Linked DNA regions of Homo sapiens: all the other regions are linked to region 3. The links are contacts of gene promoters, found by promoter capture Hi-C in blood cells and fetal thymus (Javierre and others, 2016). All regions are on one chromosome and are shown on one strand. Each heading gives the region's core, a stretch centred on a gene start or on the middle of the fragment in contact. The rest is flanking DNA. Distances are from core to core; before and after follow the strand shown.

Region 1 (3,280 bases), core at 774-3,273, about 27 Mb after region 3:
CTTAATATTGGTAAGTTGCTCTCAGATCCATAACACTAATAACCTGTTTTAATCCTTTATACTTAACATAGCAATTTCACATATTTTATATCATTAATTTTTCACAGCAACTCTGAAATAGGTGGGCTAGACAGCCTTATTTCAGTATAATCAATGAGACTGAGGTTAAATGATTTGATAAAGATTGCTTAGCTAGTAAGCAGTAGAGCCAGACTTGAGTCTAACTTCCTATTTTAAGTCTGTATAAGAAAACCATAATGGGTGAGTTATATGTTCCAGGACATCAGTAGTTCTCAACGAGGGGTGATTTCACACCCCCCCAGGTGACATTTGACAATGTTTGGAGACATTTTTGTTTGTCAGTACTGGTGAAGGGGAATCCTATTGGCATCTAGTGGATAGAGACCAAAAAGGCTGTTAAACATCCTATAATGCATAGGACAGTCCCTTACAACAAAGAATTGCCATCCCAAAAAGTCAGAAGTACAAGGTTTAGAAACTGTGCTGTGCAGTGATCACTGACAACACAGGACAAAGATCATAAAACTTTACTTGGTAAGATTTTCCCGATAAGCCACAGATTTACTTCAAACTTCAGTTTCTTCACATCTTCAACTTGTCTTAGATTCAGGATATAAAGCCTACCAGTATCTTGCACGTAAAATTTCTACTCTAAATCAAGAGAAGTTGAAGATGTGATGGGATTGTAAATTGGAGTAAATCTGATGCTTAACAGTAAAACCATTTAAAGGAGTACTCCTGTTGAAAGGCCTTAAGTTCATTATTCTTTCCCTCACTAGGTTGTTTCCCAGGGGGAGTGCATTGGGTTTCAGTTGGGAAACAAGACAAATCTGGGCTTCTGATGAAACTGCAGAATCTTTGCACACGGTTGGATCAGGATGAGAGTTTTTCCCAGAGGCTTCCACTTAATATTGAAGAGGCTAAAGACCGTCTCCGCATTCTGATGCTTCGCAAACACCCAAGGTACCGATGGTCAAATTTAGTTGGTGTGTCAGGTCCCATGTCCCAATAAGATGTAACTACTGACCTCTTGAGAACATCATGCCTTTTTCCTGCTGTTCTATAGGGAGGATAAGAGAGAACCATTGCGGCCAGGTGCAGTGGCTCACGCCTGTAATCCCAGCACTTTGGGAGGCCGAGGCTGTTGGATTACCTGAGGTCAGGAGTTCAAGACCAGCCTGACTAACATGGTGAAACCCCATCTCTACTAAACATACAAAATTAGCCAGGTGTTGGTGGCTCATGCCTGTAATCCCAGCTGCTCAGGAGGCTGAGGCAGGAGAATCGCTTGAACCCGGGAGGCAGAGGTTGCAGTGAGCCGAGATCGTGCCATTGCACTCTAGCCTGGGCAATAAGAGTGAAACTCCATCAGAAAAAAAAAAAAAAAAAAAAGAGAGAGAAAGAAAGAAAGAACCATTGCTTTCCTGCTTTTCTCTCTTGTATTTAAAACGAAAAAAAAAAGTGGCTGCCACTCGGCCTAAAATTGCTTTTTCTCTTTGCATGCTACCTACCACATCATCTCATATGTACCATTGTAGGCTTTCAGGAAATGTCTTAAGTAGGTGAGTTGGTGAGTGGTCTTTGCTAGAAAGTGCAAACTTCTTACTTTGAATCCGTTATTTCTAATGGGTTAACATAGAACAACAGAGAATAAATGCAGGCAACTGATAAATGTCAGGAAGGGGCCAGGGACAGTGGCTCATGCCTGTAGTCCCAGCACTTTGGGAGGCCATGGTGGATAGTTTGCTTGAGTCCAGGAGTTCGAGACCAGCATGGGCAACATGATGAAACCCTGTCTTTCTAAAAAATACAAAAATTAATCTGGTGTGGTGGTACACACCTGTGGTCCCAGCTACTCAGGAGGCTAAGGTGGGAGGATCACTTGAGCCTATGAGATTGAGGCTGCAGTGAACCCAGATTGTGCCACTGTATTCCAGCTTGGGTGGCAGAGGAAGACCCTGTTTCAATTAAAAAAAAAAAGTCAGGAAGGATTTTTAATGGGGCTCTTCTGTTTGATTGTCTTAGTTTCTAGAAATATACGTGTAACTCTTCTACTTCCATGTACTTCAGGAGTGAGTTTGTTTTGTTTGTTCAACAGTTAATTAATTCAGCAAATACTTACCATTATAATTATGTGCCAGGCACTGTTATCAAGTGTTTCACAGTTTTCATTAGCCAAAAGGGAGACAGCAGTTTAGTTGCTGCTTGTCTTAAGAGTATAACCTTGGATTCAGTCAACAATTTGATTTCTGTCATCTTAACAGCCTCTCTTTCATTTGTTCATTTAACCAACATTGAGTGTTGTGCCAGGTTCTGGGCCAAGTGCTGCAAGTACAAAGATAAATAAAGCATTCCTTGGGAATGTTATAGTATACTGAGTGAGAGTTAGGTAGTGGCTCTGCACTTTTTAAAAATGCCCTAATGCACCCAAGGATGCAGTATACTTTCATATGTAGCAGTTGCTGAGTATGGCAGTGATTCTCAAATTGGTAAGGGTATTAATATCAGAATATAGGGTGAGAAGAGTATTTTTGGGAAAAGCCTACTAGGTGATTCTGATGCATATTCGTTATATTTTTATGGTGCAATCTCTGCTCACTGAAGCTCCGCTTCCTGGGTTCAAGTGATTCTCCTGCCTCAGCCTCCTAGTAGCTGGGACTACAGGCTCCCCACCACACGCCGGGCTAATTTTTTGTATTTTTAGTAGAGATGAGGTTTCACCGTGTTAACCAGGATGGTCTTGATCTCCTGACCTCGTGATCTGCCCACCTTGGCCTCCCAAAGTGCTGGGATTACAGGCGTGAGCCACTGCGCTCGGCCCCTCCTTCTCTTGATATTGATCTGTGTAGAGGAAATAGGATTGAGATCACTAACCCTTCCCTCTTTAATTGCTCAGTAACTTTTCCCTAGTTCTACTTTTCCTTTTTTGCAAAATTAAAATTGACTTCTGTTGAGTAAAATAATGTAGCCACTTTCAGATGTGTCAGACTAGCTTACAAAGCCAGGCATATTTTTTTAATCTCTCAGTCTCATTTGGTTTGTGCTTTTGTAATTTTTCAACCTATGTATGTGCCTAGAGTATTTCTTTATTTTTATTTTTATTTTTATTTTTTTAGATGGAGTTTCGCTCTTGTTGCCCAGGTTGGAGTGCAATGGTGCGATATCGGTTCACTGCAACCTCTGCCTCCCGGGTTCAAGCGATTCTCTGCCTCAGCCTCTTGAGTAGCTGGGATTACAGGCTTGTGCCACCTCGCCTGGC
Region 2 (3,609 bases), core at 1,023-3,522, about 28 Mb before region 3:
AAAGTTTATGCACTTGAATGTTTAAGAGAATGAAACTTGTAGTTCCAATTTAAAATATTTAATTGATTTAATTTGTCTTTTTACATTGAATCTTATTTAAGTTAGTAAGCAATATGGGAACATTTACAAAATCTTAAGGGTCACTAAATTTATAAGTTTAATGTATAAGATTTATAACATTTTCTTAATTACTTAGAACAATTACATATTTAAAAACAAAGTCAATTACACTGAATTTTAAAATTCAATTTTAGAGACTTCCACTTTGAGCCCTGTTGGAATAACTGACACCAGATGACCTCCCACTGTAAACAAATAGAACACTGAACAAAACATATGAAACAGCCATCTTTAGAGACTGGCAAATAGGTACCACAAAACTGTAATCTAAAAGAAAAGAAAAACAAATGAGGGGAATCCTAAAATACTCTAATTTTCTGCCTAGAAGTACATTCTGGAACATAGCACAGACAGAATCCAGGTAGAGCACAGGAGTTTTGCTGAGTTAGGAGGGTAGATATTGGAATTCAGGAAGGCTGAGTGGGCTGGAATTCACAGGGAGAGTACCTGATAAGACAAAGCTTTGTAGAGAAGAAGTTCCAGAAATCTACATAAATCGTTCCTTGAGTTTGTTGCTGATCAGTAATTTATGCATGTCTACGGTTAAATGCTATGTATTATTTATTGTTGCGTAACAAGTCACTTCAAATCTTAGTGGCTTACAATATTCATTTATCTCCTGTAGTTTCTGTGGATCAGGACTTCAAGAACTCTTTGGTTTGGTGGTTCCAGTTCAGGCTCTCCTGAGGTTGCATGCAGTTAGATGTGGCTAGGGCTGCAGTTATTTATTTATTTATTTTTAATTTATATATATATATTATTATACTTTAAGTTCTAGGGTACATGTGCACAACATGCAGGTTTGTTACATATGTATACATGTGCCATGTTGGTGTGCTGCAACCATTAACTTGTCATTTACATTAAGTATATCTCCTAAGGCTATCCCTCCCCCCTCCCCCCACTCCACAACAGGACCCAGTGTGTGACGTTCCCCTTCCGGTGTCCAGGTGTTCTCATTGTTCAATTCCCACCTATGAGTGAGAACATGCAGTGTTTGGTTTTTTGTCCTTGCGATAGTTTGCTGAGAATGATGGTTTCCAGCTTCATCCACGTCCCTACAAAGGACATGAACTCATCATTTTTTATGGCTGCATAGTATTCCATGGTGTGTATGTGCCACATTTTCTTAATCCAGTCTATCGTTGTTGGACATTTGGGTTGGTTCCAAGTCTTTGCTATTCTGAGTAGTGCTGCAATAAACATACGTGTGCATGTGTCTTTATAGCAGCATGATTTATAATCCTTTGGGTATATACCCAGTAATGGTATGGCTGGGTCAAATGGTATTTCTAGTTCTAGATCCCTGAGGAATTGCCACACTGTCTTCCACAATGGTTGAACTAGTTTACAGTCCCACCAACAGTGTAAAAGTGTTCCTATTTCTCCACATCCTCTCTAGCACCTGTCACCTGTTTCCTGACTTTTTAATGATCGCCATTCTAACTGGTGTGAGATGATATCTCATTGTGGTTTTGATTTGCATTTCTCTGATGGCCAGTGATGATGAGCATTTTTTCATGTGTCTGTTGGCTGCATAAATGTCTGCTTTTGAGAAGTGTCTGTTCATATCCTTTGCCCACTTTTTGATGGGGTTGTTTTTTTCTTGTAAATTTGTTTGAGTTCTTTGTAGATTCTGGATATTAGCCCTTTGTCAGATGAGTAGATTGCAAAAATTTTCTTCCATTCTGTAGGTTGCCTGTTCACTCTGATGGGCTGCAGTTATTTAAAAGCCTGAAAGAAACTGGAGGATCCATTCCCAAAGGGGCTCATTTACGTGGCTGGAAGGTTGGTACTGGCTGTTGGCATGAAGCTCTAGTTCCTGTCCAAAGGGCTGTTTTGAGTATCCTCACAGCATAGCAGCTGGCTTTCCCCAGAGTGAGCAATCCAAGAACATGACAAGAAGTGTAATACTTTTATGACCTAGCCTCAGAAGTCACCTCACATCCACATTCTCCCTCAAATTCTTTCCAAGTTCCAAGGCTGAATGCTTACAAAGTAAATATCACGTGTGCTTTACTGACCATTATATCCCATCCACTGGCAGACAAATGGGTAAGCAAAATGTGGCATACACCTACCATGGGGTATTATTCAGCCTTAAAAGGGAAGGAAATTCTAACACATGCTACAACATAGATGAATCTCGACAACATACTAAGTGAAATAAGCCCATTACAAAAAGACAAATACTGTATGATTCCACTTATATGAGACACCTAGAGTTGTCTAATCCATAGAGACAGAATGAAAAATGGTGGTTCCCATTTTTCAGAACTGGAGAGGAGGAAGAATTGTTTAATAAATATGGAGTTTTAGTTTGGGATGGTGAAAAAATTCTGGAGATGAATGGTGGTGAGGGATGTACAACCATGTGACTGTCCTCAATGCCACTGATACTTAAAAATGGTTAAGATGGTACATTTTATGTTATGTATATTTTAATGTAATTTAAAATTAAAAATAAAAGGTTTTTTGAACCATCATTCCTCCTTTTAACATATGCCTCCAACTATTCACAACTTTAGAAAAGTGAATTTAAACTAATATATAAAGTTCTATAATTTTTTTACTCATTAACCCAAATTAATATTGTTAGAATTTCAAGTAGTATAAGATAAATAAGAATTCCTAGAGCTGCTTAAATCACTCACCAGCAATTCCTCTTTCTACAAGTAAAGCTAGTATTGTTTTTCCTTCAAAATGGATATATCTGTTAACACTTACTATATGCCTAATATTAAGTAACTATTACATAGTAAACAATTTCATTATTTCATTTAATCCTTCGAATATCATTGTGAGTCAGGCTTTCCTATTACCCTATTTTTCAAGTACAACCAAAAGTTATGAATTATTAAGTAACTTGCCCAAGGTATTATTCTTCCCATTTTTACATTTGTGAAATCAAATCTTAAACATGTTAAAAATTTCATAAGTCTTTTTGTGAACTAAAAGTCATAATATCAAATCAAACCCACATAGTTCCAAGGTCCAAACTCTTTTCATTTGCACCTGTAGTCCCTACATGGCACCATCCTATTTCTGTGTCACTGTGCAAATTTAGGTTCCTGGTTTTATCTTAAAATATCTTGCTAAATAAATTTATTAAATATGATCATCTGAAACAGTTCCCATCCTTCAAGTAGAATTGAGGCCAATTAAACCTAGTCAGCTGGACTTTTACAGTGAGAGTTCATCAGTTCCAGCCACCATGGGAATTAAACACAGACCCTAAAACAGTGATTCTCAAAACATAGCAGACCAGGAAAAAACACTGCCTGGAAATCTGTGAAAGCCCCAGAATCAGAAACTGAGAATGGAGCTCTGAAATCTGTTTTAACAAGAACTTTTGATGATTATATGCATGCTAAAGTTTCAGAACATCTTGTCTAAAGACCAGCAGGACCAAGTTTTCAGGTTCCCTACCTTGGGTAGGGAAATATAATTTGTTTTGGATTACAGAGTATCTCTTCACTTTCCCAAGCA
Region 3 (3,754 bases), core at 437-2,936:
TCTGTATAAATGCTGAGTAAACTCAGTAATGTTTAAAACTGAGAATAAGGTTAGAAGTAGGAAAAATCTGGAATGTTACTATTTCCTTTCTCAACTTACCCGTAATCTCCACCCTCGCATACACATTCCTCCACTCTAACGTATTAAAATAAAAATGCTGATAAGTTTATCTTTCTCTCTCTGGCCCTCATTTAGTCAGCACGAAGTTACACAATGTGCAAAAGTGAACACAGATAGAAACGTAAAGGAGGTAAAGTGTTCCAAAAAGATCAAATGAATCAAAAAGCTCTGAAACAGACTTGGTAAAGACACCAGAGTTGTTTTTTTTTTACCCCTCCCCCCCCCACTTTAAAAGGCAGCAACCGGAATAAATCAAGATAAAAACAGAATCACAAAAATAGTGCAGGACTGTGCAGATTAAAACTTTACAATTTTCAACGTCAAACTGCAATATGATAAAGCAACAATATTACTTAAACTGTTTATGAATATTTTTTCTCTAACAATCCAAGTCAACTTCATATAAAACACAAAGTTTCTGTACCAGCAAAAATACAAATGCTAATGAAACTTGGGCTTCTAAGGTATTATTACAAATCAGACTTAACTGTCTTAGATTTCATAAGCTTAACCCAATCCACAGCACGTTAATATACCCAATGAAGCAGTCTTAAGAATAACGCTATAGTGTGACACATGGGGAATTACCAAAGAACAACTTAAAGTATACTGACACAGGGAGAAATAAGCGGTTCTGATGATTCAAAGTTACACTCGTCTCACAGACCTAGTAATGACGCTAAAGGGAACTTTAGTGACACACCCAGCGCCGACCGCCACGTTAAGGATACAGCTCTTCCGAGGTGGAGAGGGCTCTCGCCAGCTCTGACTGCTGCTGAACCCGGATCCTGCTCCTCCTCCCAGAGGAGGTCTGCACCCCGGCTTGCCTCCTCGCTCACCCACTCCTCGCCCCCGACTCCAGCGACTCCCACCCCGGTAAGGCCTGCCTCGAAAGCGGAAACGGTCCAAGGCGAGGTGGCTCCGCTCCCAGAAAGACGGCCGGGGACTGCTTTCGGACAGTGAGCTCGAAGGCATCCGTACAGAAGGCGGATGAGACCGGAACGGTTCTTTGGGTCGGTAGCTGCTGGGTCCCCTGAGGTGGCCCCGCTCAGACGCGTGCCGCGAGCGTGAGAAATTCCTCAGCTGCTGCTGAGAAGAGGACGATGACGAGGAAGAGCCACCGCCTCCGCCAGATCCACCGCCCCGGGCCGAGTGAGGAGGCCTTCGCCGCGGATAGGGTAACAGCCCGCCGCCGCTGCTGCTGCTGCTGCTCCGACTCCGTATCTGGCTGTTATTATCGTCGTCACTGATTTCCCCATCTTCAAGCTCCCCTTCTTCCTTCGGCGAGAGGCCACTGGAGGCCGGGGCCGGAGTATCTGCGGTCGCCATCCGGGGAGCAGCGCCTTCCACACAACCTTAGCCCTCCGTCCGGGGATCCGCCCGACAATTGCCTCGTTTCCCTTCTTTCCTAACGGACTGGGTCGGTGCGGTCTTACCCTACTCGGACACCAAGCGGCCTCTGCTCCCCAACTTCCCCGCACCCCAGCACCCCAGCTCTCTCTCGCCGGACCGTCGCAACCCAGTTCCCTTTCCTAGCGCCCCCTTGCTCCTCAGCGATCGGGGTTCTTCCGCCTCGCGAGAAAGGGACTCTGGTAGCGGCTGTACCCGAAACGTCACTTCCTGCGACACGCAGGAAACAAAGGCTCCCAGTTCACGCGATAATAAGACCAACTCGATACTCACTAGGATTTGTAGTCTTTCGTCTTTCTTCGGGTTTACTCTTCCGGTCCTAGGGTCACACCCACCGCAGGGTCTGGCTTGGTACAGTTGGGTGCATGCAGAAGTAGGTGGAGCTGCTGTTGCAGCCTTGAGAGAGTTTTATTGTAAAACTCTTGTAATTTATAGTAATCGGAGGGGAAAACACCTCTTCCTTTTAATTGCTCTGAGGACCGCTGCCAAAGAAACGCAGTAGATCCGCTCCCTCTTGGGGGCGGGGAGAAAGAACGGGTTGTGTCCGCCATGTTGGTGAAGTCAAGCGAAGGCGACTAGAGCTCCAGGAGGGCCAGTTCTGTGGGCTCTAGTCGGCCATATTAATAAAGAGAAAGGGAAGGCTGACCGTCCTTCGCCTCCGCCCCCACATACACACCCCTTCTTCCCACTCCGCTCTCACGACTAAGCTCTCACGATTAAGGCACGCCTGCCTCGATTGTCCAGCCTCTGCCAGAAGAAAGCTTAGCAGCCAGCGCCTCAGTAGAGACCTAAGGGCGCTGAATGAGTGGGAAAGGGAAATGCCGACCAATTGCGCTGCGGCGGGCTGTGCCACTACCTACAACAAGCACATTAACATCAGCTTCCACAGGTAACCTGGGCAGGGAGTGGGGGTGACGGAAACTGGAGTTCCTATTGTGGCTATCGCTTGTGTGGAAGGAACAGGAGGATTCTGCTAATTCTAATAACTTTCCCAGCTGGTAGCAGGGAAGCATCGTATGTCCTTTGTGTTTCTCAAATCTGCCCAATTGTTCTCTGCTTTCGGGGAAGCTTTACTCATTTTCTAAAAGAAATCCAAGTACTGTTTGGTCATTACCCCTTAGTAAAAAAAAGTAACAGGAGGATATCGTAATTTTCTACTGTTTTATTCCTCTGTTAGACCGGGCCTTGACATGAATGACGCCGTAAGGGAGAAAGAGATCTTCCCAATCAGCAATCACCGTAAAAGCCTGCTGTGTTCCCGTTAAAATTAGGAAATTCTCACTAGATGAATTGACATGGGAGGCATTTAGATTTCTAATAGTCACATAGTAATTCTGCGGAGGAATTGAGTCATCTTTGATAGCCATGGAATTAAGCGATGTTAATTAAAGTGCAAAAGATAACCTTTCTGTTCTTACTAGAATAGAGTAATAAAAAGAACCTAGGTTTTCTTTTGTTTGCTGGAAGAAAAATCAAAATTCTTTAGTTCTGTCAAACCAGAACTCTTGAAAGCACTTTGAACAATGCCTGGAAAATAACAGGTACTCTGTAAATGTTTACCTTCTCTGCAAGTGCCTGCCACGTGCCCGAAGAAAAGACACATTAAAAAGTTAAGTGACACCAGTCCTGATTTTATATATTTTATATACCTAACAACGTATATGTTAGTATGTAGAAATTATATCCTTGACCTTTTTCCCTACCTATTACGAACTGTACTTTTATTAAAAGCTGCCACTTAAAAAAAATCTTGTGATGTTTCTGTTTTTAAACTAGTTCATGCATATGTAGTGCTTTGTTCATTCATCCATCAAATATGTACGGAGTTCCTAATTACCTGACATTGTGCTAAGGATCCAGAAAGTTCTAACCCTCCTGGAATTTAGAATTTAATGGTGGAGAAAGACATAAATAATTAAGTGCCACAGAAGAAACATTCAGAGACCTAACTTAGTCTTGGAAAGTCAAAGAACACTTTTTCAAAGGATGTGACATTTCAAATGAGACCAAAGGATGACAGATTGGGTCCTGTGTGCTACTTAAGTATTTTCTGTTTTATCCTAAGAGTACTTGAGAAACCATGGAGGGTTTAAAAAAGAATGGCACGATTAGATTTGCATATTGAAAAGTCCTCTGGCTGCAGTGTAGAGAATCGTAGTGTTACTGAAAGTGCTGGTCAAGCATCATCGGGAATGAACTTGATGAGAAAGGAACTTATTACAGA
Region 4 (3,259 bases), core at 65-2,564, about 39 Mb before region 3:
CAGCGTGACAGGTGCTCTGAATACTGACCAGGGATGAGGTTCTTATTGGCAGCTGGCTGGCAGGTGATCTAGCTTCAAAATCCCATGTTAGAGCCTGATTTCTAGGACCGCTTTCAAAATCGTCTTAGGTAGAATTCCCTGGACTCTGAGTTGGGGGGGAGACTGGTTTGCAGGAGGGTAATTGGAGTGTGCTCTTAAGAACAACACCTATAATGGAGTGAGGGAGGCCGGGTTGGGCGGAGGGAGAAAGAAGTTGAACTGTGAACAATTTGTAATAGAGGCCTCAGGCAATCCAGTAAGGGCTCTGGAGCCGGGATTTCCTTTCAGAGTCATCCTGAATTGAGGCCAGGGGGCAGACCTTTAGACCCTCTTACTGACTGCTCATTAAATGTGGGATGTTTCTGGGGAGGAAGCAAAACGCTGGGTTAAGGCTTTTGGAGAGTGAGATGTGCAGGAAGGGACTCAGCTGTGAGCAATAAGCAACCAACACTCCCAGCAGCTGGGGGATTGAGTGCCTTGGTCCTGTGACTGGGATCTGGGCCATGTTCCAAATCATTCCCTACAGGACTTTTCCATTTTTTAACGTTATAAAGTTATCTAACAAAATGAAAACTTATTTTAATAATTAGTTTCTTTGCATGTATAATTATCAGTGAATTAGTTTCTCATTGCCAAATAGTAACTTCAATAGGATTTTGAGATACTCATTCAATAGGCTATTAAACATACTCCCAACTGCTTAAGAAAATAGTGTGTTCAAAATATCTTAAAATTTGCAATCATAACCTGTTGATCTTCAGTGTTTTTTTTTTTTTTAAGTGTCACTCTGTTGTCCACACTGGAGTGCCGTGGCAGGATCATGGTTCACTGCAGCCTTGAACTCCTAGGCTCCAGCGATCTTCCTGCCTCAGCCTCCCAAGTAGCTGGAGCTACAGGTGTGGACTACCATGCCTGGCTAATTTTTATTTTTTGTTTTTGTAGAGACGGGGGTCTCACTGTATTGCCCAGGGTGGTCCTAAACTCCTGGCCTCAAGCAAGCTTCCCACCTCTGCCTCCCAAAGTGTTGGGATTACAGGCATGAGCTACTTCGCAAGGCCAATCTGCAGTCATATGGTCCACCACTTTGATCAGGGACAGATTTCAGTAGGTATGGCAGGAAATTCTCCTGAGCACACGTAAGGAAACTCACATCTGGGCCACTTGTCACTTGAAAGCCAAAAACCCAAGAGAAGAGCTGTAGTGAAAGTAAAGTTAGCTTTATTCAAGAGACCAGCAACCCTGGGGGATGCAGTGAGCTAGCGTTCAAAGACCACCTCTGGTTTTTAAGGGCAATTAAGAGAAAGGATGATAAAAAGATTTTTGTGAAACGTGTGCAGTCTCAGGTCGGCAGTAAATCATTGCTTTCTTGGTCAATATTTTGTGGCTTTCTGCAGGTACCATCAGCCTATTCTTATTAGGTCGGTCAGCCCATTCACAGAGAGGCTGATCTAGGTATTTTCTTTTATCTCTGTTCAAGATCCTGTTTTTCTGAGGCTGATTTTAGTGAATGATCTACAAAATCAAGCAAAGTAATAATTGTATTCAAGTAAGCAAGCTTTCTTCTAACATGGAATCAGTACTGTCACACACACAGCAAATGGTGCTTTCTATTTAGTACCTTAATACATAGGGCACACATGTGTTTCTGGTGACACACAACTCTCTGGCTTTTACAGGTGTGTTAGTAATTTGAAAATCCTACTTGTTACAACAGTATGCCAGGGTTACTTGATGTCAGGGTTACTTGATGACCTGTGCTTAATGGAGAAGAATTTTGTGGATAATGAGAAATAGAAAATTTCTACCTGGGATTACAATTTATTATAAAGTCTTTTAAAAATAGATTTGAGCTCTGCTTTGTCTCTTAAGTTTAGTTGCATCTCATGAAGAGGCAGCAAAGTCTGATATAGAAGGTGGTGTCGGGCCGGGTGCGGTGGCTCACGCCTGTAATCCCAGCACTTTGGGAGGCTGAGGTGAGCGGATCACTTGAGGTTGGGAGTTTGAGACCAGCCTGACCAACATGGAGAAACCCCATCTCTAATAAAAATACAAAATTAGCCGGGCATGGTGGCGCATGCCTGTAATCCCAGCTACTTGGGAGGCTGAGGCAGGAGCATTGCTTGCACCCACGAGGTGGAGGTTGCAGTGAGCCGAGATCATGCCATTGCACTCCAGCCTGGGCAACGAAAGCCAAACTCCGTCTCAAAAAAAAAAAAAAAAAAAGAAGGTGGTGTCACAGGAGGTGCTAGATGAGACTTGACAGTAGCTTAATGACAGTAACAAGCAACAAGTTTGGAAAATACAGTGAGATCAATTACTCTCTTTTTATAATTTGTGTTGGTATTATAGGGGAAATTGGGCTTTGTCCCAAAGACAGGAGCAATAAAGAAGATGGGACTTTCAAACCTTTGGAATTATATCCGTGGCTAAAATTTTATGGGATTGCACCCATGGTTTGCATTTGGGTTACAAAAAAGTGACCAAGTTAATTCTTGCTGTTTTTATTGGCTTAAAAAGTGAGTGAACAAGGGTTAAAAAGTATTTTTAAAAATATGATTTATCTCAACTGTAATAACTTGAGGTTAACTGGCCTTGAATTAGAGGCACATGTGTTTTACAGTTACCTTTTCCTGCAACAAAATGCCACATAAATGTTCTCTTTGAAGGGATCCCTGTTTTAAATGGCTTGGTTTTCAAAATGTAAACAAATATAAATATAATAGAATTCAAAAGACACAGAGTAAACAGTAATGGTATTTTAACTGATCTCTACTTAACTTTGAAAATTTCTCTATCTCTAGCATTGTATTAAATATATATTCAGATTACAGCAGAGATCTGATTAGGGCTGAAATATGAGCTGCTCGAACATCACAGCAAAATGACAGCAGAAAGAAGTCTGAGGAATTCTGATCATTATAATCACTATAAAATATAATTCTTATTTGTGTTTTCTGTTTTTTTTTCCTTGGAGAAGATTATTGGTGACATCAGATGCAAAAGGGAGTGGATAGGAACAAGAAATAGAAATTGTAAACCTATAATTGTAAACCTACGTAACCATGCCCGGTTACGGCCGGGCATGGTGGCTCACGCTTGTAATCCCAGCACTTTGGGAGGCTGAGGCGGGCAGATCACCTGAGGTCAGGAGTTTGAGACCAGCCTGACAAACATGGTGAAACTCCCGTCTCAACCAAAAATACAAAAATTAGCCAGACGT
Region 5 (3,348 bases), core at 586-3,085, about 29 Mb after region 3:
ACCACCATGCCCAGCTAATTTTTATATTTTTTAGTAGAGATGGGGTTTTACCATGTTGGCCAGGCTGGTCTTAAACTCCTGACCTCATGATCCGCCCGCCTCCGCCTTCCAAAGTGCTGGGATTACATGCTGTGAGCCACTGCTCCCGGCTGGAAACTTAATTTTTATGGCCATAATTTTTAACTTGTGAATCTTTTTTTTTTTTTTTTTTTTTTTGAGACGGAGTCTCGCTCTGTCGTCCAGGCTGGAATGCAGTGGCGTGATCTTGGCTCACTGCAAGCTCTGCCTCCCGGGTTCACGCCATTCTCCTGCCTCAGCCTTCCAAGTAGCTGGGACTACAGGCGCCCGCCACCAGGCTGGCTAGTTTTTTGTATTTTTAGTAGAGACAGGGTTTCACCGTGTTAGCCAGGATGGTCTCGATCTCCTGACCTCGTGATCTGCCTGTCTCGGCCTCCCAAAGTGCTGGGATTACAGGCATGAGCCACCGCGCCCGGCCTAACTTGTGAATCTTTAATCCAAATGGTATTAAGACTTTCTGTGTTAAAGCCAGAAAGACTAGGACCTTTACCAAAGCACTGGCTTTCGCCTCTGCAGTGGCGGAAGCAATACTTACCTGTAAGGATTTCTTGAGGATTATTAGAGAAAGAAAGGATCCAGTATAGAACTTGTTACATACTGAACTTTAAAAAAAAATGGGGGAGGGGCATTTTTGTGTTATTATTATTTTAAAATAGAGACAGGGCCTTGTTCTGTCCACCCAGGCTGGAATGCAGTAGTGGGATCACAGTTCATTGCAGCTGCAGACTCCTGCGTTTAAGCAATCCTCCTGCCTCAGCCTTCCTCTAGAAGATAGGAATATAGATGCTCATCACCATGCCTGCCTGATTCGTATTTTTCTCTTTCTGTTTTATTTTATTATTAGTTTTGAGACTGAGTTTTGCCCCATCACCAAGGCTGGAGTGCAGGGGTGCAATCTCAGACCACTGCAACCTCCATCTCTCAGGTTCAAGTGATTCTCATGCCTCAGCCTCCTTAGTGGCTGGGACTACAGGCATGTGCCACCATGCCTGGCTAATTTTTGTGTTTTTTTTTAGTAGAGGTAGGGTTTCACCCTGTTGGCCAGGCTGGTCTCGAACTCCTGACCTCAAGTGATCCATCCGCCTTTGCCTCCCAAAGTGCTGGGATTACAGGCGTGAGCCACCATGCCCAGCCTTATTTTTTATTTTTGTAGAGACAGGTTCTGGCTATGTTGTCTAGGCTGGTCTTGAACTCCTGGTCTCAAGCAATCATCCTGCTCCCAAAGTGCTGGGATTATAGGCATGAGCCCCCACTCCCAGCCTTTGGTATTATTTTAAGACAGAATGAGAAACACTGGATATACCAATCTTAGGATACGCTAATCTTTTGGCATCAAGAGTGGTGGTGAAGTAAAAATGTTTTTAGGAACTAAATATTTAGGGGATAATTATTTGTTTCCTTGTTTCTAGGGTTATTCCTAATTGTCAGTTCCGGTCAAAAACAGCACGTCTTAAAACTTTTACTGCCAACCAGATAGATGAAATAAAAGACCCTTCTGGACTCTTTTACATCCTCCCTTTTCAAAAGGTAATCCAATTAATTATGTTTCATTTCTAGCATTGTAGACCTAAATTTAAAGATAATTTTAATTGTATATAAAAGGCTGTGTGTAACTTAAATTTTAACTACAACCTAATTAAACCCAAATTAAAATTTAATTGTTTGGGTAAAAATAAACGACCATGATTTAGTTACTTATTGTGAGTACTGATTTTTACTTACATTAAATCTAAGTGGTATGCACACATTAATTTAAGAAAATAAGTATAGGGAGGCAACTGTATATATTGGTGTGTCTTTTGAACCTCTGACATTTTAGTTATTGCTTATTTGTGAGTTTGTTTTTTAACTTTTTAAAGGAGAAAAACATACTAACATAATTGGTTTGAAATTCATACAGCAGTATACCTATGTAGTAAACCTGCACGTTCTGCACATGTATCCCAGAATTTAAAGTATAATAAAAAAATTTTTTTTTAAATTAAAAAAAAGAAATTCATACAGCATTACACTGGAAATGGTAACCATAGATAGAAATCAGTGATTTGGAATCTGATTTTTAAAAATTATTCAAATATTTATAATCTGATTTTTAAAAATTATTCAAATGTTCTTGATAATTAAATTTATAAAAACATTTTTTAGGGCTACTTGGTGAATTGGGATGTTCAGAGACAAGTTTGGGATTACCTTTTTGGAAAAGAAATGTATCAGGTAACAAATTAGAGTATGTATTAAAATTCTATTTCCATGTTTAATTGTAATGAAAAATTAGAATTTACATTTTAAGATTTATAAACTTATGAATAATGTTCTCCGCACATTTAAAATAAATAATAAATGCAAGTGAATAAAATTTCCATGTTGAAGTAGAGGTTGAGTAAAGATAGTCTGTATGAAACTCAAAATTTTACTTCAGATTTCTATTATTAGATCAATTCACTATATCATCTTAATTTTCACAAACGTTTTTGCTTACATATCTAAATACATGAATATTACAAGAGGATTTTGTGTTTTTAATGTCTGTAATGTGATTATAGGTATAAGGAGAAAATGTTCAAGTTTTAATACTTCTCAAGAATGTGTGTGAGAGAATTACATAAACTTGAATATCTTAAGCATCTTGCCCTTTGCCTTTTTTTTTTTAATTTAAAACATCTGCAGGCCAAGCGCAGTGGCTCATGCCTGTAATCCCAGCACTTTGGGAGGCTGAGGCGGGTGGATCACTTGAGGTTGGGAGTTTGAGACCAGCCTGGCCAACTGGTGAAACCCCGTCTCTACTAAAAATACAAAAATTAGTCAGGCATGTTGGCACACACCTGTAGTCCTAGCTACTTGGGAGGCTGAGGCAGGACAATTGCTTGAACCTGGAAGGTGGAGGTTGCAGTAAGCCGAGATTGCACTACTGGATTCCAGCCTGGGTAAGACTATGTCTCAATAAATAAATAAATACATAAATAAAACATCTGCAAGTTTTTTTTTATTATGATTTTCTTTTCTTTTTAATAGACATGGGGTTTCACCATGTTGCCCAGGCTGATCTCAAACTCCTGGGCTCAAGCAATCCGCCCAAGCGTGAGCTACCGCACCAGCCCCATCTTCTCTTGTTTTGTCTTTGTCTTGTTCTGTCCTTTTTTTTTTCTTTTTTTTTTTTAGGGGGAGTCTTGCTCTGTTGCCCAGGCTGCAGTGCAGTGGCATGATCTCTGCTCACTGCAACCTCTGCCTCCTGGGTTCAAGTGATTCTCCTGCCTTGGCCTCCTGAGTAGC
Region 6 (3,602 bases), core at 835-3,334, about 28 Mb before region 3:
CTGATACAGAGAAGCTTTTCGCTTTTTACTCTTTTTGATAGTTTTAGAATGTTGTTCCATATGAACACATTATTTACTCTAAAATTGTATTTTTAAAATATATATAGGGAAGCAAAAATAATTGACAGAAGAATATCTGAGTCTATTTGTCTTAATTGGAAGGAAAGATCATTTCCTATTGAGAATGAGGGACACGCAGAACAAATAAAATCCACATAGAAAGAAGTAAAGGTATGAAATAGTCACTAAGGACTATGAGAGAAGACAAGTGGAAGGATTAACGGCAGTGTTGAAGGCCCTGTGGAAAGGGGGTTACCATAAATTTGTATTCACATCAGCAACCCTGGTGTACAAGTAAAGTTGTTAGATTTATCCCTGGCTGCAGCTCTCCAGGATGGAGTAGCAGAAGTAAAGGGGGATTGCAGAAATAAAGATTCTGTCTAGAGAGTAGTTGAAGTGGTGAAGCACAGGTTTTGGCGTAGTAGCAAATGAATTGTGGTCAGGCAGATCTCATGGACTCAAAAAATGTGCAGAGGTCAAGGAAGAGCAAAGTATGTGAAAAGTGGGTGGGTGGACCATATCTGTTAATGCTACACAAATCATTTCAGTACGTTTTTTTTTTTTACTTCTACCAAAGAATGTTGCATAAATTTTAATTGTAAATAAGTACTAATTGAGAAACATAAATTGAAAGGTAAATGTTTTTATTAATAGATTTGATTTCTGAATATGCTAATTCTGATAGTTTGTTGATATTACTCTTAAGAATTTTTCTGGTAAGTTTTTTGCCCCTTTCTATAAATTTTACTAGGAAAATATCAGTGTCAGAAAAAAGTCCTCCGATTTTTATTGCTATTAATGGGTGGAAAAAGGAAGCAAACCCAGAGGATAATTGGACAAATGAATTACAATTTTAATTTCATCTTAGGATATCAATGACTTGACTTTGGAATGTTTCTTTATTATGGTATAATCAGTTGCTGACATTTCATATGATATAGCAAAGTGTGATATATAAGCTTACAGATGTCATCTCTAAAAGTACTGTAAAATTTTAATGAGATTTTTCCATATTTTAGGAATAGAAGATGAACAAACCCATAACACCATCAACATATGTGCGCTGCCTCAATGTTGGACTAATTAGGAAGCTGTCAGATTTTATTGATCCTCAAGAAGGATGGAAGAAGTTAGCTGTAGCTATTAAAAAACCATCTGGTGATGATAGATACAATCAGTTTCACATAAGGTAACAGATAAAATTCTTTGTATTTTTAAATTCTTACATCACAATATGGAATGATTAATTGGTATAAGTACTGTCTAATGTGGCAGTTTAGAAAGTAAACCTCTCCACTATGGAGGAGACATTGGTAGTAGGTAACCTCTTTTTGATTGTTCCTTTTGCAGTTTTGTCTTCTTTGTCCCATATGTCAATAGGGCTAATACTGTGATCTCTCAAATAAGTTTTTTGGGTTAGAATCAAGATTCCCACCTTTGCTGTGGTTCCCTGTTTGGCAAGCCAAGTGAAGTTCACTCTGCCTCACACTTCTCATTTCCAGATTGAAGGAAAATAAGAATGTTACAAGAATGTCTGGTAAAAATCTAGAGCTTAAATTTCAAAGTGTGTGAATCTCTAACACACTCTAACAATGTATTTTGGGACTTTTTCAATTTGACGTTTTAAAGTTGTTGCTTACAAGTGTACACTTCTGTGCACAGAATTCTTAAATCTTAGCTAGGATTTCTCAGTGCTGTCTTCAGATAATTTCAATTTTTCCTTTTTACTCATCTCTGCTCAATTTAGTGTAAAATATGCATGCATATTTTATTTTTGTCAGTCATTGCAGTTAAAACCTATGTCAAAATGTTTCTTTGGTAGCAAAAGGAAAAGAAGACTATTTGTTATTTTCAGCATTAATCTGGGAAAGAACCTAAAAGACTTGGCTCCCTTGCAGGAAATATTTCCTCATAAGAAGAGCGAACATGTTAAATTACTTGAAAGAAGCTTAAGTTTAAACTGTGTTAAGCCAATGTTTAAAGATAATTTTTTGATATTACTGTTAAAAACTTATGGAAGATAATTGGGGCAGTGGTGGCAGGAAGATAAAGCTCTTCTCTTTTTTTTTTCTTTTTTCCAAGACTCATTCCTGTGACAGAAAAAGCTTTTCTTTACAGAATAATACCTGCAAATAATTGTGAAAAGAATGGTAGAATGAGAAAAATACCTATTTGCAACCACCAATGAGTAACTGATTCATGCAAGGCTCATCACTGAACCTAAAAGCATAAGGTGAAAGGTGGTTGTTCTCGTGCATGTGAGCAGGATATGCACAAGATTTTAAAGTATTATAGGCTGAGCACAGTGGCTCATGCCTGTAATCCTAACACTTGTGGAGACCGAGGTGGGCAGATTGCTTGAGCCCAGGAGTTCAAGACCAGCCTGGACAACATGGTAAAACCCCATCACTACAAAAAATTAGCTGGGTGTGGTAGTGCACGCCTGTAGTCCCAGCTACTTGGGAGGTTGAGGTGGGAGGATCACCTGAGCCCAGGAAGTCAAGGCTGCAGTGAGCCATGATCATGCCACTGCACTCCAGCCTGAGTGACAGAGCAAGACCCCCTCAATAGATAGAGAAAAAGTATTGTACACAAATTACTTGTGAAGTATGAAAGAGAAGGGTACATTTTTAATGAGGAAATCTGAAGTACACTTCCTTCACCAAGTGATCAAACTTTAGCACCAATAATAATGGTACAAAATGCTAATATGTACCCCTGGATGTGATACAATGGGAAAGGCACATTATACCTATGTAGTATTTCTACCAAAATGCTTAATCTGAATTTAATCATGAGAAAGTAGTCAGATAAATCTAGGCTGTTAGACCCATTCTATAAGACATCTGGCCCGTATTCTAAAACACACACACCCACAGACACAGATTGAAAGAGAGAATGCACAAGAGCCCAGATATGGCACAATTTTATCAATTATTCAATTGGTGAATCTAGGTGAATGGTTGTTCATTCTATCATTTTTTCAACTTTTCTGTAAGTTTGAAATTTTTAAAAATAAAATCTTTAGAGGAAAAACAGAAAGAAACAATATTGGTTAAATTTTTAAATGTTACTTTTCAAAACTAATTTTTGATTTTAAAGAAATGGAAAGAAATGGGTTGAAAGCCGACTTTGTGATTTTTTTCAATTTAATTGAATTACAGTTAAGATCAAAGGAATAATTTCCTAAGTTTTTGTGTGTTCTGTTTCTTTAATTAAGCAGGTGCATTTATTAAAAATTATATAGCTATCAGAGTCTTAAGTCATGTGGGAAGTAATATTGCTAGTAGATTAAGAATACACTCTTTTGTCAAATGAGATCTGAATTTGTACCTCAACTTGGATACATCATATTGGCTGTGTGGCTATGGGCTGGTTACTCTACCTCTCCAAGCCTGGCTTTTTCACTAGTAAATTCATATGATAATCATAATATCTTTGAACATGCTCATGTGTGTGCATCCTATAACCCACTAAGTAAATATCCAGTAAGTACCCAGTAAATTATTATCATCATCTTTGGCATCTTTTTTCCTCCTATC
Region 7 (3,588 bases), core at 416-2,915, about 30 Mb before region 3:
CATCCACTACCACAAGACCAGGCATATCCAATGTATGGATTGCTCCTTTAGCTTGGATCCCAGGATGAGAAGATATATCAAGCAAAGTCATAGCCATAGACATGTAATGTGTGCAAGAAATAAATGCTTGCTATTGTAAACTGTTTAGATGTATGGGGTTGTTACAAAGCAAAGCAGAATAATACAAGCATAATTCCCTTTTAAAGTGTGTAATTCAATGGTTTTTCGTATATTCAGAGTTGTGCAACCATGACTCACCAATTAAATTCCTCAGTATATACTCAAGAGAACTGAAAACATGTTCACAGAAAAACTGTCCATGAATGCTCAGAGCAGCATTATTCATAATAGCCAAAAAGTATGAAAGAACTCAAATGTCCACCAAATAATGAGCAAAATGTGGTATATCCATACAATGGACTATTATTTGTCCATAAAAAGGAATGAAATATAGTGATACACGCTACAGTGGATAAACCTTGAAATATTATGCCAAAAAGAAAGCCAGATTCAAAAGGCCACATACTGTGTGATTCCTTTATGTAAAATGCCCCAAACAGGCAGACAGAAAGTAGACTCGTGGTTGCTCATGACTGGGGGACTGAGGAGTGCAAGGTGGGAGTTACTGTTACTGGATACAGGGTTTCTTTGGGGGGTAATGATTTACTTCACAAAGGTTTAATGCAGTCAAAATTGGATAGGAAAAATCAAGTTATAGGTAAATTTATTGATCATAATTCAATGTCAAAAAACACATAGTATATAGGAAAGATGTTTTTCTTTCTTTACTGGAAATATAAGAACACATGCACTAGTGAATACATATGCTGCATACCATTAAAAAATCATAAAACACTTAGGTATTGCTGTAAGGAATGAAGTAATTTGTTTATAGTTTTTTAACTCCCAAATATCTATTCTCCCATTTTGAAAAACTGGTTTGGGAGATTTAGATAAAGAGTAGAAACTCACACTGAGAACTTATGACATATCAGTGGCTTATTAGAAGCAATAAGATAAATTAGCAAAAGCAACTCATCTGAAGACAGCACTTGCACTTTTAGGCCAAAAAGAAAAATTAAAGTTTGAAAATACTGGAAAAGTAAAGGTAGTTATCCAGGTTCTGGCTATTAGTTGCTTAAAACTGTTGAAAGCAGAATATTAAACATCCAACATTCAAAGAGGTAACTCTATTAAATAATTTTAATGAGGCAAAGCATTAATATGAGTTAGGTGGGTATGTCTTCACTATACCCATACTGACATTCAAAAGCACTGAAGTCCTAAAAGGGAACTTTTTCACTGTGGATCAAACTGAAATAAAATGTTACTATGGCTCATCCTCAAGTTTAATAAGGCATAAAGCATCTAGCTCTAGGTAGCTTGTCTACAACTGACCAAGGGGTAGCACAAGGTACCTTTGCGGTGATGAAACAATTCTGTATCCTAATCCTAATTTTGGGGGTGGTTACATGTATTTACATGTGATAAAACAACACTCGGCATAATAACATTTGTCAAACTTGAAGTTTACTTAAAACCAATTACAGGAGGTTTTTTATACATACATACATACATACATACATACATACATACAAACAAACACACACACACACAAGTCGCCCAGGCTGGAGTTCAGTGGTGCGAACACGGTTCATTGCAGCCTCAACCTCCTGGGCTCAAGCAATCCTCCCACCTCAACCTCTGGAGTAGCTGGGACCACAGGCGCACACCACTATGCCCAGGTAATTTTTTGTATTTTTGTTGTTGTTGAGAGAGTGTTTTGCCAAGGCTGGTCTAGAACTTCTGGGTTCAAGCAATCCACCCACCTTTGCCTCCCTGCTAGGATTACAGGTACGAGCCACCATGCCTGGTTGTACTTTTAAGTTAAACTAGAAAAAGTAATTTTCATTTCAAAATGTCCAAGATAGGAGGCTTCAGTGAAAACTATGCAAAACTTACCAAAGAGTCAGTGATACGAGATGAGCCTGACCAACATGGTGAAACCTCATCTCTACTAAAAATACAAAAATTAGGCCAGGCGCAGTGGCTCACGCCTGTAATCCCAGCACTTTGGGAGGCCGAGGCAGAAGGATCACAAAGTCAGGAGATCGAGACCATCCTGGCTAACACAGTGAAACCCTGTCTCTACTAAAAACACAAAAAATTAGCCAGGCTTGGTGGCATGCACCTGTACTCCCAGCTACTTGGGAGGCTAAGGCAGGAGAATCGCTTGAACTCAGGAGGCAGAGGTTAAAGTGAGCTGAGATCGCGTCATTGCACTCCCGCCTGGGCGACAGAGCATCTGTTTCAAAAAAAAAAAAAAAAAAAAAAGCGGATCACAAGGTCAGGAGATCGAGACCATCCTGGCTAACACGGTGCGGTGAAACCCTGTCTCTACTAAAAATACAAAAAATTATCTGGGCGTGGTGGCAGGCGCCTGTAGTCCCAGCTACTTGGGAGGCTGAGGCAGGAGAATGGCGTGAACCCGGGAGGCGGAGCTTGCCTTGAGCCGAGATCATGCCACTGCACTCCAGCCTAAGTGACAGAGCGAGACTCCATCTCAAATTGAAAAAAAAAAAAAAAAGTCAGTGATAAATTTAGGCATATTCAGCATAAATATTTGACAGTATGAATGAAGTGCTGCTGCAAAGCAGTAATGCAACTTCAAGGCATGTATACCCTCCCTGTGACTGTGCAAGAAAAGCAAAGATGCTTACGGACACATTAAAGGAGGCCATTCCCATGATACTGCCAAATCACTACTATTTAATTTTCAACTAAATTGTTTCCAAGTCGGGCGCAGTGGCTCACGCCTGTAATCTCAGCACTTTGGGAGTCTGAGGCAGGCAGATCACCTGAGGTCAGGAGTTCGGGACCAGCCTGGCAAACATGGGGAAACCCTATCTCTACTAAAAATAAAAAATCAGCAAGGTGTGGTGGCATGCGCCTGTAGTCCCAGCTACTCAGGAGACTGAGGCAGAAGAATCGCTTGAACCCAGAAGGTGGAGGCTGTAGTGAGCCGAGAGAGTGCCACTGCGCTCCAGTCTGGGTGACAGAGACTGCGTCTGGGTGACAGAGACTGCGTCTCAAATAAATAAATAAATAAACAAACAAACAAATAAATAATTTCTAGACAACTTAACTTCTAGCTCTAAGTAAGATCTTCTTTTTCTTAAATTTCTAATTTCATTAATCCTTGGCAAGTAGGAAAAGGACTGCTTATATATAAATGACACTGAAACAATCATCTACCCATTTCAAAGAATAAGTTAGCATCACACAATATACCTCCTCTACCAGCCCCCAGCTCCCCCACAAAGCTGGATTGATTTAAATCTAAAAAAGGGAGGGGAAAAAAACTGGTAGAAAGCTTTCCTATGCGTAATAAAGGTAAACACGATAAAGTAAAAAGTAGCCAATCTGAAAACAAAAATCATAAACCTCATACAGTACACACATTATGAACAAAATTTAAGTTTATACGTAGGGGAAGTACTTCCAATAGGTATGGCATATAGATAATGATCTTACTGCTTTAAAATAAGATTTTCTAGGCAGGGTATGGTGGCTCATGCCTGCACTTTG

The links. The method cuts DNA at HindIII sites, captures the fragments that hold promoters and counts their contacts. A CHiCAGO score of 5 or more calls a contact.
Region 1: a contact is called between a fragment that was not itself captured here and the fragment with the promoter of ZFC3H1 in region 3, in 1 of 17 cell types (neutrophils). The highest score is 5.6, in neutrophils.
Region 2: a fragment that was not itself captured here is called in contact with the fragment with the promoter of ZFC3H1 in region 3 in 2 of 17 cell types (total CD4 T cells and fetal thymus); the score reaches 6.8 in total CD4 T cells.
Region 4: a contact is called between a fragment that was not itself captured here and the fragment with the promoter of ZFC3H1 in region 3, in 1 of 17 cell types (total CD4 T cells). The highest score is 8.7, in total CD4 T cells.
Region 5: a fragment that was not itself captured here is called in contact with the fragment with the promoter of ZFC3H1 in region 3 in 3 of 17 cell types (total CD4 T cells, non-activated CD4 T cells and naive CD8 T cells); the score reaches 14.7 in total CD4 T cells.
Region 6: a contact is called between a fragment that was not itself captured here and the fragment with the promoter of ZFC3H1 in region 3, in 1 of 17 cell types (total CD4 T cells). The highest score is 6.8, in total CD4 T cells.
Region 7: a fragment that was not itself captured here is called in contact with the fragment with the promoter of ZFC3H1 in region 3 in 1 of 17 cell types (total CD4 T cells); the score reaches 7.5 in total CD4 T cells.

What each region holds. Positions count from the first base shown.
Region 1 is chr12:98,658,360-98,661,639 of GRCh38, forward strand. It overlaps APAF1 (apoptotic peptidase activating factor 1), which reads left to right. Exons shown (of 27, transcript NM_181861.2): 5 at 801-984. Among named protein-coding and RNA genes, the nearest start is that of APAF1, 15 kb to the left of the region's middle. The HindIII fragment of the contact is 4,050 bases long and covers 1-3,280 here.
Region 2 is chr12:43,750,332-43,753,940 of GRCh38, forward strand. All of the region lies in intron 2 of PUS7L (pseudouridine synthase 7 like), which reads right to left. Among named protein-coding and RNA genes, the nearest start is that of PUS7L, 6.7 kb to the right of the region's middle. The HindIII fragment of the contact is 3,386 bases long and covers 580-3,609 here.
Region 3 is chr12:71,662,162-71,665,915 of GRCh38, forward strand. ZFC3H1 (zinc finger C3H1-type containing) reads right to left here and starts at 1,687. Exons shown (of 35, transcript NM_144982.5): 1 at 852-1,687. The coding sequence starts at 1,449. THAP2 (THAP domain containing 2) reads left to right here and starts at 2,140. Exons shown (of 3, transcript NM_031435.4): 1 at 2,140-2,419. The coding sequence starts at 2,349. RefSeq lists enhancers at 1,310-1,429, 1,782-2,340, 1,790-2,149. The HindIII fragment of the contact is 1,665 bases long and covers 625-2,289 here.
Region 4 is chr12:32,756,551-32,759,809 of GRCh38, forward strand. No RefSeq gene overlaps it. Among named protein-coding and RNA genes, the nearest start is that of YARS2, 2.3 kb to the left of the region's middle. RefSeq lists an enhancer at 1-206. The HindIII fragment of the contact is 556 bases long and covers 1,037-1,592 here.
Region 5 is chr12:100,203,453-100,206,800 of GRCh38, forward strand. ACTR6 (actin related protein 6) reads left to right here. Exons shown (of 11, transcript NM_022496.5): 2 at 1,488-1,605; 3 at 2,224-2,292. Among named protein-coding and RNA genes, the nearest start is that of ACTR6, 4.3 kb to the left of the region's middle. The HindIII fragment of the contact is 5,782 bases long and covers 1-3,348 here.
Region 6 is chr12:43,767,024-43,770,625 of GRCh38, forward strand. It overlaps IRAK4 (interleukin 1 receptor associated kinase 4), which reads left to right. Exons shown (of 12, transcript NM_016123.4): 2 at 1,080-1,249. The coding sequence starts at 1,089. Among named protein-coding and RNA genes, the nearest start is that of IRAK4, 9.9 kb to the left of the region's middle. The HindIII fragment of the contact is 157 bases long and covers 2,007-2,163 here.
Region 7 is chr12:42,135,192-42,138,779 of GRCh38, forward strand. The region is part of intron 1 of GXYLT1 (glucoside xylosyltransferase 1); the gene reads right to left. Among named protein-coding and RNA genes, the nearest start is that of GXYLT1, 7.9 kb to the right of the region's middle. The HindIII fragment of the contact is 3,412 bases long and covers 1-3,371 here.